Regions from separate parts of the Homo sapiens genome. Here all the other regions are linked to region 1. The links are contacts of gene promoters, found by promoter capture Hi-C in blood cells and fetal thymus (Javierre and others, 2016). All regions are on one chromosome and are shown on one strand. Each heading gives the region's core, a stretch centred on a gene start or on the middle of the fragment in contact. The rest is flanking DNA. Distances are from core to core; before and after follow the strand shown. Region 1 holds the start of ATP13A4-AS1 (ATP13A4 antisense RNA 1). Region 2 overlaps FGF12 (fibroblast growth factor 12). Region 3 has its middle 41 kb from the start of FGF12. Region 4 overlaps MB21D2 (Mab-21 domain containing 2). Region 5 overlaps MB21D2 (Mab-21 domain containing 2).

Region 1 (2,694 bases), core at 95-2,594:
CCTCTGACAGCAGAAATTTGCTAGAATGAAAATATTGTATTCATCTTGTCAAGAATGTTTTCTTTTTAAAGAAAACAGAGAGGGAGAGAAGCACCATGCACTTTATGATTCTTGTTTGAGCCTCATTGGTATAGCCAGTTCTGTTCAAAACACCTAACAATTTTAGGAAATCCCTAATGTGAGGAGCAGTGTATTCCCTGATAGGAAGAAGCAGAAGTTCAGCAGTGAAGCAGAAGTGCAGCTGGGTCTTTGACCTTCTCTTCTCAAATGTCTTGTTCACCGAGTCTGTTGGACAGGGAAGACATGCAATATTAACAATTATCAGCCTACACACATTTCTGTTTTCTTCTAGAATTTTACTTTTGTGGCTTCCTCATTATAGAGATTGGTTACAGAAAACTTTCGGTAGTTCAGTATCTCTTTGATTTTAGATGTGCTTCTATCTTGAGAACTATAGGAAAATCAAAGATGACTTTCATGCTCAGGATGAATTTAAAACTGTATTTCTCAATTACAATATAATCAAGAGAGAGTTAGAAATATGTACTTCTGTTTAATAAGATCTTTCTGCTAATTGTGTAAGCATAGTCTTTTATGCCAGTAATGATGTAATTAAAATGTTAAAATGTGACGCTCTCATTCCATAATAGCATTTAATCTTCCTGGAATTAATATGTAAATAACAAACCTGAAAGATATTTACTTAAAATGTTTTCTTGGTTAATTGCTTTAGCCCTGACTATTACATTCTTTGTTCCTAAACTGGTCTTTCAAGTCTAATCTGCTTACCTGTTCCTATAGCAACAACATTTTTTGGACTTTCAAGAGTAGATCCCTTCTGCTATCAAAGCTGAAAAAATTATAAAGAAGTAAAATGTACATTAATTCAGGTGCCTTTCTTAACCATATCCTTTACTTCATTCAGATTTGACTGCCAAATGAATTGCCTTCAGCCCCTCCACAAATGTCACCAGAAATGGCTTGCTAGCCCACATTGGATATCATCTTTGTTTCTTTAAAGAGTTTTCTTTAGGAAGTGAATATCTCATTACTCTCGATATTAAGTTGAAAAGTTTATCTTCATCTTGAATACTCTTCACCAGAAGGCAGGGGCTCCTTCCTCTGAAACATTTTTTTTCTCTCTCATTTAGAAATACACTCACTCTTTTCCAGTAAACCCCTTTCTGCTCTCAGACAATTTGTCTTTCAAGTCTCAATAAGAATCATTTATTTTCCAGAAGACATTCATGGTTGTAGGGAAACTGTTACCTCTTCCCTAGCATACATATTCCACCAAAGCAATTTAGTTAACAGTTCATCTTCATAATGGCACCATCAGATGCATGGAGAACTCCACGTAGTTTTGTATGCAGCTGAAAGCCCAGTTAGGAGAGGCCCTTTAATATGGAAAGGGACACTGTGTTTTCTGGTAGGCAGCCATTTGGCCAGTAGTCTCAGCAGAGGTGCAGCAATTAGTATGCACTCCTGAGCTCTCCATCCTCTTCTGCCTACAGAAACCTGGCCACCTGCCTGTTGCTGTGTCTGACACTGTGTTCCTTTTTAACTCACTCCTCCATCCCTTGCCCAGAGCAGTAAACTTTAAAAATTATCAAGCTATATATATAGTCTACATATTTTGTAGTGATTTTTAGTATACACAGCATTTTCTTGGCCACTAGCTAATTTAGTTTTCCTCACAACCCTATGAGGTAGATGCTGTGATTCTAACTTTAAAGATGAGGAAATTGATGCACACAGGCTTTCCCTAAGGTTGCATCAACCAGTAAGTCCAGGAGCTGAGGCACCGCACAGGTTAGTTTAAGTTGACAGCTCTTTTGTCTCTGGACCTGAACATAGCCCACTGATACCTTTTCCAGTTCTTCCGGAGAACATTCCACTCTTAACAGAACACATTCCCTTCCTTCATAAAACAAAGCTAAGGAGAACATCAACATCCAGTCTTCTTAGATTCCCCAGCATCTGTTCTGTTATAGATAATTTGAGTTTCTTTTTTCTTCTAGATAATTCGAGTAGCTTAAATAAGTCTGTCTTCTCTGACTTCCAAGTCCAGAAATGTGTCACACCAAAGTGTTTAGTTTCATGCTTTATAATATACTTTACTTGAACCTTTGCAAACGTAATTTCTCTTGTGGTAGAAATTACTTCAAATTTCAAGAGAAAACAACATGCTAGGGTTTAGACCTCATGTCAAATAAAGAAGAATATTCTGAGGCCTAAAGATGCCTGGGATTATCTTCCATTTTGGAGTTAAAAAACCAAAAACAGGCTGGGCATGGTGGCTCGTGCCTGTAATCCCAGCACTTTGGGAGGCCGAGGCGGGCGGATCACCAAGTCAAGAGATTGAGACCATCCTGGCCAACATGGTGAAACCCCATCTCTACTAAAAACACAAAAATTAGCTAGGCAGGGTGGCGTGCACCTGTAGTCCCAGCTACTTGGGAGGCTGAGGCAGGAGTATGGCGTGAACCTGGGAGGCAGAGGTTGCAGTGAGCCAAGATCGCGCCATGGCACTCCAGCCTGGCAACAGAGCAAGACTCTGTCTCAAAAATAAGTAAATAGATAAAAATAAATAAATAAACAAGTAACAAACCAAAAGCAAACAGGAACTAAAGAGCAACCCTAGGTGACCTGAAAATAATATCTTTAACTGCGAAATGAGACAGGACCCAAAGG
Region 2 (2,694 bases), core at 73-2,572, 990 kb after region 1:
TGTTTATCTATTGATAATAGCAGAGTTAAATATCATTTTATTAATTATGTAGAATTTCTCTCTTTGTTTCAGGACACTAATGATACATCTTTGCTGACAAAGCACTATGTAATTGTGTTCATACTTTTAAACTTGTCAGCTGCTAATGAAAATGCCATTCTCAAATATTATCCTTCCTCATTGGATTTAGCTTGATTTTTTTCCTCTTTAGGGAGTACAATTGAAACTACTCTGGCTCTCCTCAGTCTCCAGTATTAAATCATTGGCAGCAGCTGGTAACAAACTAGGAGGAGGATGGGATTGTGTGTGCAAGTCTTCATTGTTTGAGCAAGTGGTGAATGTGTGAGTTGTGAGCTTGGGGGCATAAAGAGCCTGGTGAACCATCTGCACCCAGAACCATTAAATCTTGGGATATGAGAGATATTAAAGATTGGATTGTCTAGCCATTCATCAAATGCTTAAAATTTGTGTCTATTTACCTGTTTTCAGTTTATACAACTTTTTAATAATATTCCATTAATCTTGGATAGATCTAACTTTGTTATTTTGAACTGAAATTGCTTTACTTTTAACTTCAACGGTAGGTCCCAGTTCTAAAGCTCTCAAAATCACATAAAAAAGTCTAATCTTCTTTCATGGCATATAAAAGCCACTTATACGTCCAGTATGAGTCTTCTCAAGATCCTTGGAGTCTTTCTGTGATAGCACTTTGAGTGTCCTTATTACCCTGGTCATACTCATGTGGCAAACAATGTGTCTAAGAGTATGTAAGCCAAACAGTGTTGGTTTCAGTATGGGAAATCCGTGTGAATGCTTGATAGAGAACGTTCAGGATGAACAATGACAGTGTGAATAAGAGAGATAATTGTTTGCAAGAGAAGCTTAGTGGATGAAACATAGCTTCTCTCATAGCACAGTGAAACATTGCGCCACTGCACTCCAGCCTGGGCAAAAGAGTGAGACTCTGGCTCAAAAAAAAAAAAAAAGTCTCAGAGGTAGGGTTAGTATCACCCAGAATTTATCTTCTGTACCCAAATTTCCATACTAGTTGCCATAATGAAGAGTATACCTATTTACTGATTACAAATATGTTTTATTGAAGATAATATAAATTCACAGCAATTATTTGTCCCATGGCGACAAGATGGCCTATATAATTTTTTTATTTATTAATAAGAGCTGTATCTAGTACAATTCTACTTCATTGTGGGTTTTTTATTTCAATCAAATTTTGAACTTTACTGAAGAAATCCCTTCATGTTTTTCTTATTATTTACTTCATGCATTTATGAAGTAAAAATACATGCATTCTTTGTGTTTCTATTGTCTAATTAAAAATTTAAATGCAATAAAATGCAGAAAGTTTAAATGTGTAATTTATTGAGTTTTGTTAAATTAACCTGTATAACCAACACATTCATCAAGACATACAACATTTCACTTGGGAAAATTTCTTCACATCCCTTCCAGTCAGTCTCTTCCCCACCCACCCACAACCAATTATCTAATTTTTCTCATCATAGACTTGTTTGGCCTAATCTTGAATTGCATATAAATGAATTTTTTCAGTCTATACTATTTTGAAACTTCTTCCTAAACAAAATTTCTGAGATCCATCATGTTGTTGTGTATCACTAGTTAATTATTTAAAATTGCTGAGTATAAGGTCTATTGTCTAAGTATTCCATGGTGTATTTATTTGTTTTTATTTTGGTAGACATTTGAATTATTTTCAGTTTTTTACTAACTTGAATAAAGCTTCTGGAAATATTCATGTACAAGTCATTTTCTTTTTTTTTTCTTTCTTTTTTTCTTTATTATTATTATTATTATTTTGCCATGTTTTAACTTCTCTTGTGTAAAAACCCAGGAGCAGAAGTACGGGGTCATAGTGTAAGCTCTTGTTTAACTTTATAATGAACTGGGAAACAAATTTGCAAACAATCTGATACTATTTTAAGTGACATTTCTAGAAGTATTATTTTCTAATCGTTTGTAACATAGTACACTCCCAATGTATGAGAGTTGCAGTTGGTCTGTATCCTCACAAATAAATAGTATTTTCCAGGCACGGTGGCTCACGCCTGTAATCCCAGCACTTTGGGAGGCCGAGGCGGGCGGATCACAAGGTCAGGAGATCGAGACTATCCTGGCTAACACGGTGAAACCCCATCTCTACTAAAAATATAAAAAATTAGCTGGGCGTGGTGGCGGGTGCCTGTAGTCCCAGCTACTCAGAAGGCTGAGGCAGGAGAATCGCTTGAACCCAGGAGGTGGAGGTTACAGTGGGCTGAGATTGCACCACTGCACTCCAGCCTGGGTGAAAGAGCGAGACTCTGTCTCAAAAAAAAAAAGAAAAGTGAAGTTTCTCACCATCATTTTAATTTTCATTTCGCTGAAGACTAATGATGTTGATAACTTTTCATGTACTTATTGGTCATTTGTATGTCCTCTGTTCTGACGTGCCTGTTCAAATATTTTGCTTATTTTAAAATTTGTGTTGTCTTTTTATTATTGATTTGCAGAATGTGTGTTTGTGTATATAGCTGTGCGTGTGTTTGTGTGTGTGTATATATGGCATATATATATGTTGGTTACTCCCCGCTTCCCCTTTCCCTTATAGATTTTCCTGTTCTGGGCATATCAGATAAATGGAGTCATGTAATATGTGACCTCTTGTGACAGTCTTCTTTC
Region 3 (2,694 bases), core at 80-2,579, 790 kb after region 1:
GTGTGATCTGACATGAATTTCTTTTATCACCCACTGTGAACTCAGCAACCTGTTGAATTTCCTTTTTGCACTGGCTTCCAGAACAGTAGTTTAATTATCGATTGTGGTAACAATTATTGCTAAGACATATTAGAAATATTAAAGTTTGATATTAAAGTGGGATAAATTATGCAGACAAACAATCAAGAGTTATAATCCCCCATTCATTACAAAGAACTTGATGTTAAATGAAGATGAAAATCTTTATTGCCTAGATGCATCTACATATATGGAATTTTCCTCTTTTTTTTTCTTTTTGCTTTTCTTCCTAGTTTTAAGAATAATGTCTTTGCTGATATCCAGACATCACTCAGGCCTGATATAACTCTTGATGGGAATGTATACCACTCTCCTAAGCCCCATGCATATGAAAGTCAGGCAATTGAAGATCTGTACAAACCATGGTGCTAATTATGACACAGGAAAGCAACAAGGGTTGAAAATATCAGAATCTGACTTAGTATTGTTACTTACCATAGGAAAAAAAAGACCAAGCCCTGAAAAGTAAGAACATTAAAAATTTTACCTCCTGCTACAGTTAAAATGAAATAATTTTTAAGTGATTTTTATAAATGCAGTTCAAATTACACATCAAAGACATGCTAAACATGTCACACTGTCACGTTGTTTCTTCCACACAGTCCCTCACTATAGGACCATAAAAACATTTCCCAAATGATGGTGAGTGCTTTCTCTAGCTTGTCCTCAGAACCACTAACATCTCACATCTGTTTCCTTCTATATTGCATCAGATATATCTATCCTTTTCTGTGTGTTGTATTTATTAAAACACTCTTTCAGCCGGGCGCGGTGGCTCACGCCTGTGATCCCAGCACTTTGGGAGGCCAAGGCAGGTGGATCACCTGAGGTCAGAGTTCGAGACCAGCCTGGCCAACATGGTGAAACCCCCGTCTCTACTAAAAATACAAAAAATTACCTGGGTGTGGTGGCCAGCGCCTGTAATCCCAGCTACTCGGGAGGCTGAGGCAGGAGAATCGCTTGAACCCCGGGGGCAGAGGTTGCAGTGAGCCGAGATCGCGCCATTGCACTCCAGCCTGGGCAACAAGAGTGAAACTCCATCTCAAAAAAAAAAAAAAAAAAGAAAGAAAAAGAAAAAACAGTCTTTCATTTTTGAGAAGGGTTACAAATTGGTGAAGCTTATATAAATATAATTCTTAGGATTATATTTATTTTAGATAAGTGCACCACTGTTTTCTTCTGCTACTTTACTGCATTTTATCTTTTATATGCATTTACCTGGATTCCACTGTTAGGTTACATTCTCTTTGAGAACAGCACTTATATGTTGTTTAAAAAAAATCTAGCAACCAATGAGTTCCACATATTCTGATGAAAATAATAGGTGCCTATTCCCCTCAGCTCTATTTTGCCTAGTTGGAAACATGACTTTAAAAGAAGCTTGGGCAAATCAGTAGTCAGAGGTCTGGAAATCAGGAAAGTCCTGAGTTTTCAAGTCTAACTCTGGTGCTAATTTGCTCAGTTATTTTTGGTGGATTTTTTTCAGCATTGCTTTTCTTGTCTATAAAATTAAGGGATGTGGGCTAGCTAGATTTTCTCTAAAATTTCTGTCATTGTATAGTTCTGTAGAAATAAATTATTATAAACCTTAAACTATCTTTGATTTAGCCCTGATTAAAATGAAAATTGAAGTCTGAGGCTATAAGGTATTTTGTATTGTTTTGTTTTGTTTTTTAAAGCAGGAGCCTTGAGAGCCTGATAAGCTGTTGACACAAGTGCTTTTGAGAATAGCAGGTAGAGTAATTACTAGCTTATTTTTAAATTGACAAAGGAAAAGGTTAATAAATGTTTGCATATCTTCATTTACCACAAAATGTAAGTAAATCTGTACTTACTTGCATCTAATTATTAAGGAAATGGAGTTTGTATCTCAATTAGTTAACCAAAAGGGGAGATATACTTTCCTATCATGTTACAATTTTTATTTCAATAGCAGTTCCAATAGTTGTTGGCTTATATCCTTGAAATTATATTTATTATAATTACATGCATTTGAGAAAAATATTTTTTATAGAAAACTATCTAAAGTTATAAACTGTTCACCATGGGACGTTGTACATGCTTAGAAACTGTGATAATTAACCTGCTATGACCTCACCAATTTTGCTTTAATTAACTCAACCAGTATCAACACTGTAGTTTCTATTAAAATGAGAACACATATAAAATGCTCTTCTCAGTAAACAGTCATTTTACAAGTAAAAGAAATGTCTCTAAGTAAAACACAAGATCAAATATTAATTTTTTACAGCTGATACTAAGAAATCTAAGTTATCTCAATGTATTATTGAAAATTCAGCAACATAATGCTCTCTCTTTTTATGATAAAAAGTCACATAAAATATCTTTTTTATTATTATTTAAGTTTTAGGGTACATGTGCACAATGTGCAGGTTTGTTACATATGTATACATGTGCCATGTTGGTGTGCTGCACCCATCAACTCGTCATTTAGCATTAGGTATATCTCCCAATGCTATCCTTCCCCCCTCCCCCCACCCCACAACCGTCCCTGGTGTGTGATGTTCCCCTTCCTGTGTCCATGTGTTCTCATTGTTCAATTCCCACCTCTGAGTGAGAACATGTGGTGTTTGGTTTTTTGTCCTTGCGATAGTT
Region 4 (2,694 bases), core at 130-2,629, 750 kb after region 1:
AGCCCAGGAAAGTTTTCAAGGAAGACATTTGGGCTTGTATAACGCTGGGGAAGGCTCGAGTTCTGTTACCATATCGTTTGTAAAATTGCAGACTAATGGGCTCAGGGAGGCTAAATGGAAATGTGGATGTAGGAAGGGATTAGCTTCTGGAACAGTGTGGCCTTAGGGACTTTGTTTCTTATAGGGGCTTAGTAAATGTGTGTCTGCAATACTCTTTCTGCTACTAAAGGGCTTTCTTCACTTTAAAAGGAATAAGAAGTGTTCAAAATTACCCTATCTCCTGAATATTAGAATTTAGCCAAATACTTGATGTTGACTCCTTTGAATAAAGGGTCAACATTTTAACGAGATGCATAAGCATCATTGAGAGGAAAGAGAACCTTTTATCATTGGCAGGAATTTTCTAGTGTGTATATTGACAAGTGAAAACAGGTTAAAACTTCTTAAATCCAGCAGAGGGCAGAAGGGAGTTTTAGCTATGGCTTACCCAAGACTCTCCAAACAAGATTGTAACAATCCAAGGCAAAATTCAGTGGCACTTTTGTAGACAAATTATCTCCAGGTTGTTAATGCACAAGTTACCCTGATTATATAGACGAGTCTTAGTTGGTGGGCTCAAAGCCAGTTTGCTTCTGTCCAGGACAAAAGCATATATAGGATTTTGAGTTAGTTACGCCTAAGAGGAGACAACAGTGTGTACTCAAATAACAATATCACTTTAATAGATTCAGATCTTATTTACTAACCACAACACAGCATTTCACAGTACTTCTCACGTATATTTATGGTATTCTGAATGGTAGAATGAAAGGATGTTTGAAATAATGAAGAGTAAACGATTTCATTATCAAATATATCTCACTGAAACTGACTGTTCCAACATGTGAGTTCATAAAATAATGAAAATGATTTTCACAACCTAATCTGGAATCTGAGAAATCAATTTTATCCTTTAAAGCAATAACCAAAACGTGGGATGGTAGTATTTCTTTACATGGCAAAGATGAGGTTAATATTAAAACATAATGACATTTGAGAAATGGATCTTTGTCTTGGCATTTATAAGAACTTTCAATCCGGATTAAGTTTGGCTTTAAAAAAGAAAACACTTTAAAAAGGAAAAACATATTTTCCATGCTGAAGACGGTTTTTGTTTGGGTAGTAGGTAGTATCTTCTGTTTTGCTTGGATAGTATTTAGTGTAGTATGTTGGGTTTCTCAGGACGCAGCCTCTGAAATGGAGTTAGGATGTTTATGAAGCAGCACCCTTGGGATCTACACCTGTCGAAGTGGGGAAGGAAGCAGGTTCAAGTAGGAGAAGCTGAGCTTCCCTGCAGGCGCATCATTCGCCACAGCCAACCCCACTGGGAACTCAGAGTTTGAGTGGCCCTTCAGAGTATCCTGAGCTGGGACACTCCCACACCGATCAGTTATTGGATGTGCACCTGCAACCCCCATCCCAGCCACAGGACCTGACCTGGCTAAGACAGCCCTTTGCAGCTGAGACAATCCTTAAGGGCTAGCATTTAAGCAGCTGGAAGTCCTTTATTGAAGAGGGACCTGGATGCCGTATCACAGTGCAGATAGTGTGAGAAACAGCCAAGAAGTCAGGTTTGTTGGATGTTCTTTCTGATGAATTGTTGACACTATAATGTTGGCTAACTTACGGTTTTAAAAAGAAAATGATAACTTGCCATATTTCTGTGTGTAAAGAATTGTACTAAATAAAAGACTTTTTCATGGTTAATGTGGTTTGGAAAATAGGATTTTAAAGAGCATATTTTAATAAATGAGCGTTAAATTTTAAAGTATAATTGTCTTAGTTCATTCAGGCTGTTATGTCAAAGTACCTAAACTGAGTAGCTTATAAACAGCAGGGATTTATTTCTCACCATTCTGGATGTCAAGAAAGCCAAGATCAAGGTGCCTGCAGATTCATTGTCTGGTGAGGGACAGCTTCCTGGTTCATAGATGGCTGTCTTCTCACTGTGTCCTCACATGGCAGAAGGGGTAAAGAAGCGCTCTGAGGTTTCTTTTATAAGGGTACCAATCCCACTCATGAGGGTTCCACTCTCACGCCTGATCACCTACCACAGGCCCCAGCTCCTAATACTATCACATTGAAAGTTGGGATTTCAACATGTGAGTGGGAGTCACGAACGTTCAGAGTATAACAATAATAGTAAGAAAACACAGGCATATGGTTTATTTGATTTGGGATTGTCCTATGAAGAGCAAACTATGAATTATAATGAATAATGGAATATTATAATACTTTGTGGTAGGTCTTGATCTTTGGGGAAACACTGTTAAATAAATCACAGGATGACGCTGGTAGTTTGTCAGAGAATCAAGCGTAAGCAAGTATATAATGAAGGAGGGAAAATGTATATGTTGTTTATGGAACAGTCATTTAAGTCTAGCCTTTAAGAATTTATGTTAATTCCATCTATTAATGCTATCTACCTATTAATTTCATGCATTTTTTCCCTTATCATTTAGTCATAGCTTGAATTATGTTCCTACTGCATGCACGGAGTCTTCTATACCTGCTTAATACATGAGACATGGTTCTCAAAAGGACCCACAATCTCTTAAAAAATCACATTTGTTAATATCATCGCCAATTTAATCAGAAACGTATACAATTCGAGAAGATGTCACGCTCATGGTGCGGAGTTTTCTAAATTTAATT
Region 5 (2,694 bases), core at 77-2,576, 730 kb after region 1:
GGGAGGAATAAAGTTACTTGGTGAGTTCCTATACTATTAATGAAGTCTCTGCCTCCATGCCTGTTGAGACTGGTATCTGAGGTGAACTCCTGTCACCTTTTCTGTTGAATCTTATTTTGGGGAGAAACCAGTAATTGAAGTGAAACAGTGTAAGTGACTCTCCAATGTATCACAAGCTCTCTTCAACTCAATTTAGAAACATCTCTTATTAGGAATGAAAACTTTAAGCAGATGCCCCATTCCAACCTCCCACCCCCACCCCGCCTTTTTTCTGTTGGACTGTTATGCTTGTTTGTGGCACATTTAATTAGCTTCTCAGGGACTTGCTGTGAATAATAGCTCCCTCACATTTAGAAATGCGATAGGTATACACTTGTTTGTTTAGAATCAGATCACGTATTTCCATGTAAAGATATTTCAAATAATGCCTGGGTTCACAGGTGCCATTTTAACTCAGTTTGCAACCGGAATGCAGTACTCATCCTATTATCTTGGGTTTGGGGAGTAGGAGGCTGTATAGGAGGGGAGGGAAAGGAAGAGGAAGAGAAAAAAATTGAGCACAGTTTTGAAATTGACAAAGGGTTTCCTGGGTGCTGCCTCTTGCTGCCTCCCTGTCTCCTACTTCTGTCCTCAGGACCTTCCAGGACCCTGACGGCCCATCATGGCACTTTGTAGACCTCCAAATCACTCAGTCAACTCTGAATCCAACTCCCACTGTGGCAGGGCTGGTGTTCTTTGCTGCGTTAAGAATGTTGTTCTCCAATTCCAGACATTTAAACCAAAGAGTAAATGTTAATTAGCGCCTTAACTTCCAGAAAGCAATTTCCAGTTTCCCTTTTAATCGTGACAATGAACCTAATTGGTAGAATTAGGCAAGAAGAGAGGGAAGGGGCAGAAAATTCTGGACTGAGAACTTGCCTCTAGGTTTGGTGCTCCCTGCTTGTGCCTGGATCTCCCAGCTTCCTTCATTTCTGGATCCCATAGTGTTTGAAAGCTGCAGGTGCTCTGCGGTCTCCCAGGGCAATAGCGAAGTTGTGAGATGAGGTTGAGGAATGAGGTGGGAGCAGGTGTGGATAGTTCACACTACTGACCTGGATGAAATGTTTGTGAGTCAACCCTACCTTTGGAGTCAGAGAGCTTGGTTCAGCTATCAGATCCACTGACTATGTAACTTTGAGCATTTATTTAACCTCAAGGTCTTCATCATAAGAGGGCATTATAAAGATTAATAACAATTCACAAGAAACCTTTTGGCCCAAAGTAGGTGCCCAGTAAATGAGTGATGTTATTAAGAGCCCAGGTGGTGGTGGATAGTGACATTAGCAATATCAGGAAGGCAGCAGCATTAGTCAAATAAACGATGTGTTCATTGTTATTTGAAGGGTACGTAATGTTCTGTTTGTTTGTTTAAAATGGATTTGTGAGGGATGGGTGTGAAGGATGGCTTGAGGCCAGGAGTTCGGGACTAGCCTCAGCAACATAGCGAGACCTCATCTCTACAAAAAATATATATAAAAAAAAGCTGGGTGTGGTGGCACCGCCTGTAGTCCTGATTACTCAAAAGGCTGAGGTGAGAGGATTGCTTGAGCCCAAGAGTTTGAGGCTGGAGTGAGCCGTGATCACACCGTTGCATTTCAGCCTGGGTGACAGAGCGAGCCCCTGTGTCAGAAAATAAGATTTGGGGGGATGGAAAACAGGGTGGAGCGCGAGTTAGGTAGTCAGAAGTTGTACCTCCAGATGCTGGCTGAACGAGGCAGCGGAGCATCTGTGAGGAGGTTGGGCCTTTGCAGAGAGAGCCCGGGGCGGGACGCCGGAGGAATATTTGACACAGTCTGAGTGGCCGCTACGCAGACGCTTTCATCAGCAGTCATTCCTCGTCTGTCTATAGGCGAGAATCAATAACAGAAGAAAAAGGTGACAAATCATTCATTGCCCAGAGACTGGCTGTAAATCCAGTGCCTGTTATTTTCTTTCTAATCATTTTAACAAAACTTCTGTACGAGTCCTTTCCCTGCAACACAGAACCTCATCCCTGGACTTTGAAAGGCCTTTGGAAAGATCTGAAATTACATTTTGTATTATCCGAAGTTGTTATCTCGGGGGAGTTAAAGGTCTACTTTGCTCTTTGTGCTTAAGTTAGATCAGCGTTCATAATGTCATAGTTTTCTTTTTTACAATCTGTTTCATGATACTCATAAATTTTAGAGAAATCTGTCTGAAGGTTCTGCATACACCTCTGTGTGTTTCTGGGGGGTGTGTACTTTTATACATCTTAGCTCTGACTTGCTGTTATACAAACTCACTCTTAATATCGCATCTCCCTCCCCTTTCTCTCCCCACAGAAACACAAACACACTTATTTATGTATAGAGTCCTGAAAGTCAGAAAGGACATTAAAAACCATGTATTCCACCCAACTTACTTGGTAGCCAAGGAAACAGAAACCTAGGGAGAGGAGCTGATTCCCCTACCCCCTTGTAGGGAGCACCAGGACTAGGCCCTGGGTGTCCTGCTTCAGGTTCAGAGCTTGGGATGCAGAGCTTGTCCCCAGAGCAGGAGCTGCAGGGCCTGCTCTCCAAGCTGCCTGCACTTTCACAGATGGATGTCAGGTGCCTCCCAAGCTGGAGTACCTGGAAATGGGTAAAAATAGTTGAACAAGTGAGTACAGTTGGCGAAAAGTAAAGTCTTTTTAGA

The links. The method cuts DNA at HindIII sites, captures the fragments that hold promoters and counts their contacts. A CHiCAGO score of 5 or more calls a contact.
Region 2: a contact is called between a fragment that was not itself captured here and the fragment with the promoter of ATP13A4-AS1 in region 1, in 2 of 17 cell types (M1 macrophages and M2 macrophages). The highest score is 8.3, in M1 macrophages.
Region 3: a fragment that was not itself captured here is called in contact with the fragment with the promoter of ATP13A4-AS1 in region 1 in 1 of 17 cell types (M2 macrophages); the score reaches 5.2 in M2 macrophages.
Region 4: a contact is called between a fragment that was not itself captured here and the fragment with the promoter of ATP13A4-AS1 in region 1, in 3 of 17 cell types (M2 macrophages, monocytes and M1 macrophages). The highest score is 9.9, in M2 macrophages.
Region 5: a fragment that was not itself captured here is called in contact with the fragment with the promoter of ATP13A4-AS1 in region 1 in 3 of 17 cell types (M2 macrophages, monocytes and M1 macrophages); the score reaches 6.5 in M2 macrophages.

What each region holds. Positions count from the first base shown.
Region 1 is chr3:193,551,863-193,554,556 of GRCh38, reverse strand. It overlaps ATP13A4-AS1 (ATP13A4 antisense RNA 1), which reads right to left and starts at 1,344. Exons shown (of 2, transcript NR_121666.1): 1 at 1,270-1,344. The region is part of intron 1 of ATP13A4 (ATPase 13A4); the gene reads left to right. The HindIII fragment of the contact is 3,457 bases long and covers 1-2,694 here.
Region 2 is chr3:192,561,030-192,563,723 of GRCh38, reverse strand. The region is part of intron 2 of FGF12 (fibroblast growth factor 12); the gene reads left to right. Among named protein-coding and RNA genes, the nearest start is that of FGF12-AS3, 46 kb to the right of the region's middle. The HindIII fragment of the contact is 877 bases long and covers 884-1,760 here.
Region 3 is chr3:192,766,822-192,769,515 of GRCh38, reverse strand. No RefSeq gene overlaps it. Among named protein-coding and RNA genes, the nearest start is that of FGF12, 41 kb to the right of the region's middle. The HindIII fragment of the contact is 262 bases long and covers 1,199-1,460 here.
Region 4 is chr3:192,800,920-192,803,613 of GRCh38, reverse strand. All of the region lies in intron 1 of MB21D2 (Mab-21 domain containing 2), which reads left to right. Among named protein-coding and RNA genes, the nearest start is that of FGF12, 75 kb to the right of the region's middle. The HindIII fragment of the contact is 5,224 bases long and covers 1-2,694 here.
Region 5 is chr3:192,819,755-192,822,448 of GRCh38, reverse strand. The region is part of intron 1 of MB21D2 (Mab-21 domain containing 2); the gene reads left to right. Among named protein-coding and RNA genes, the nearest start is that of FGF12, 94 kb to the right of the region's middle. The HindIII fragment of the contact is 6,078 bases long and covers 1-2,694 here.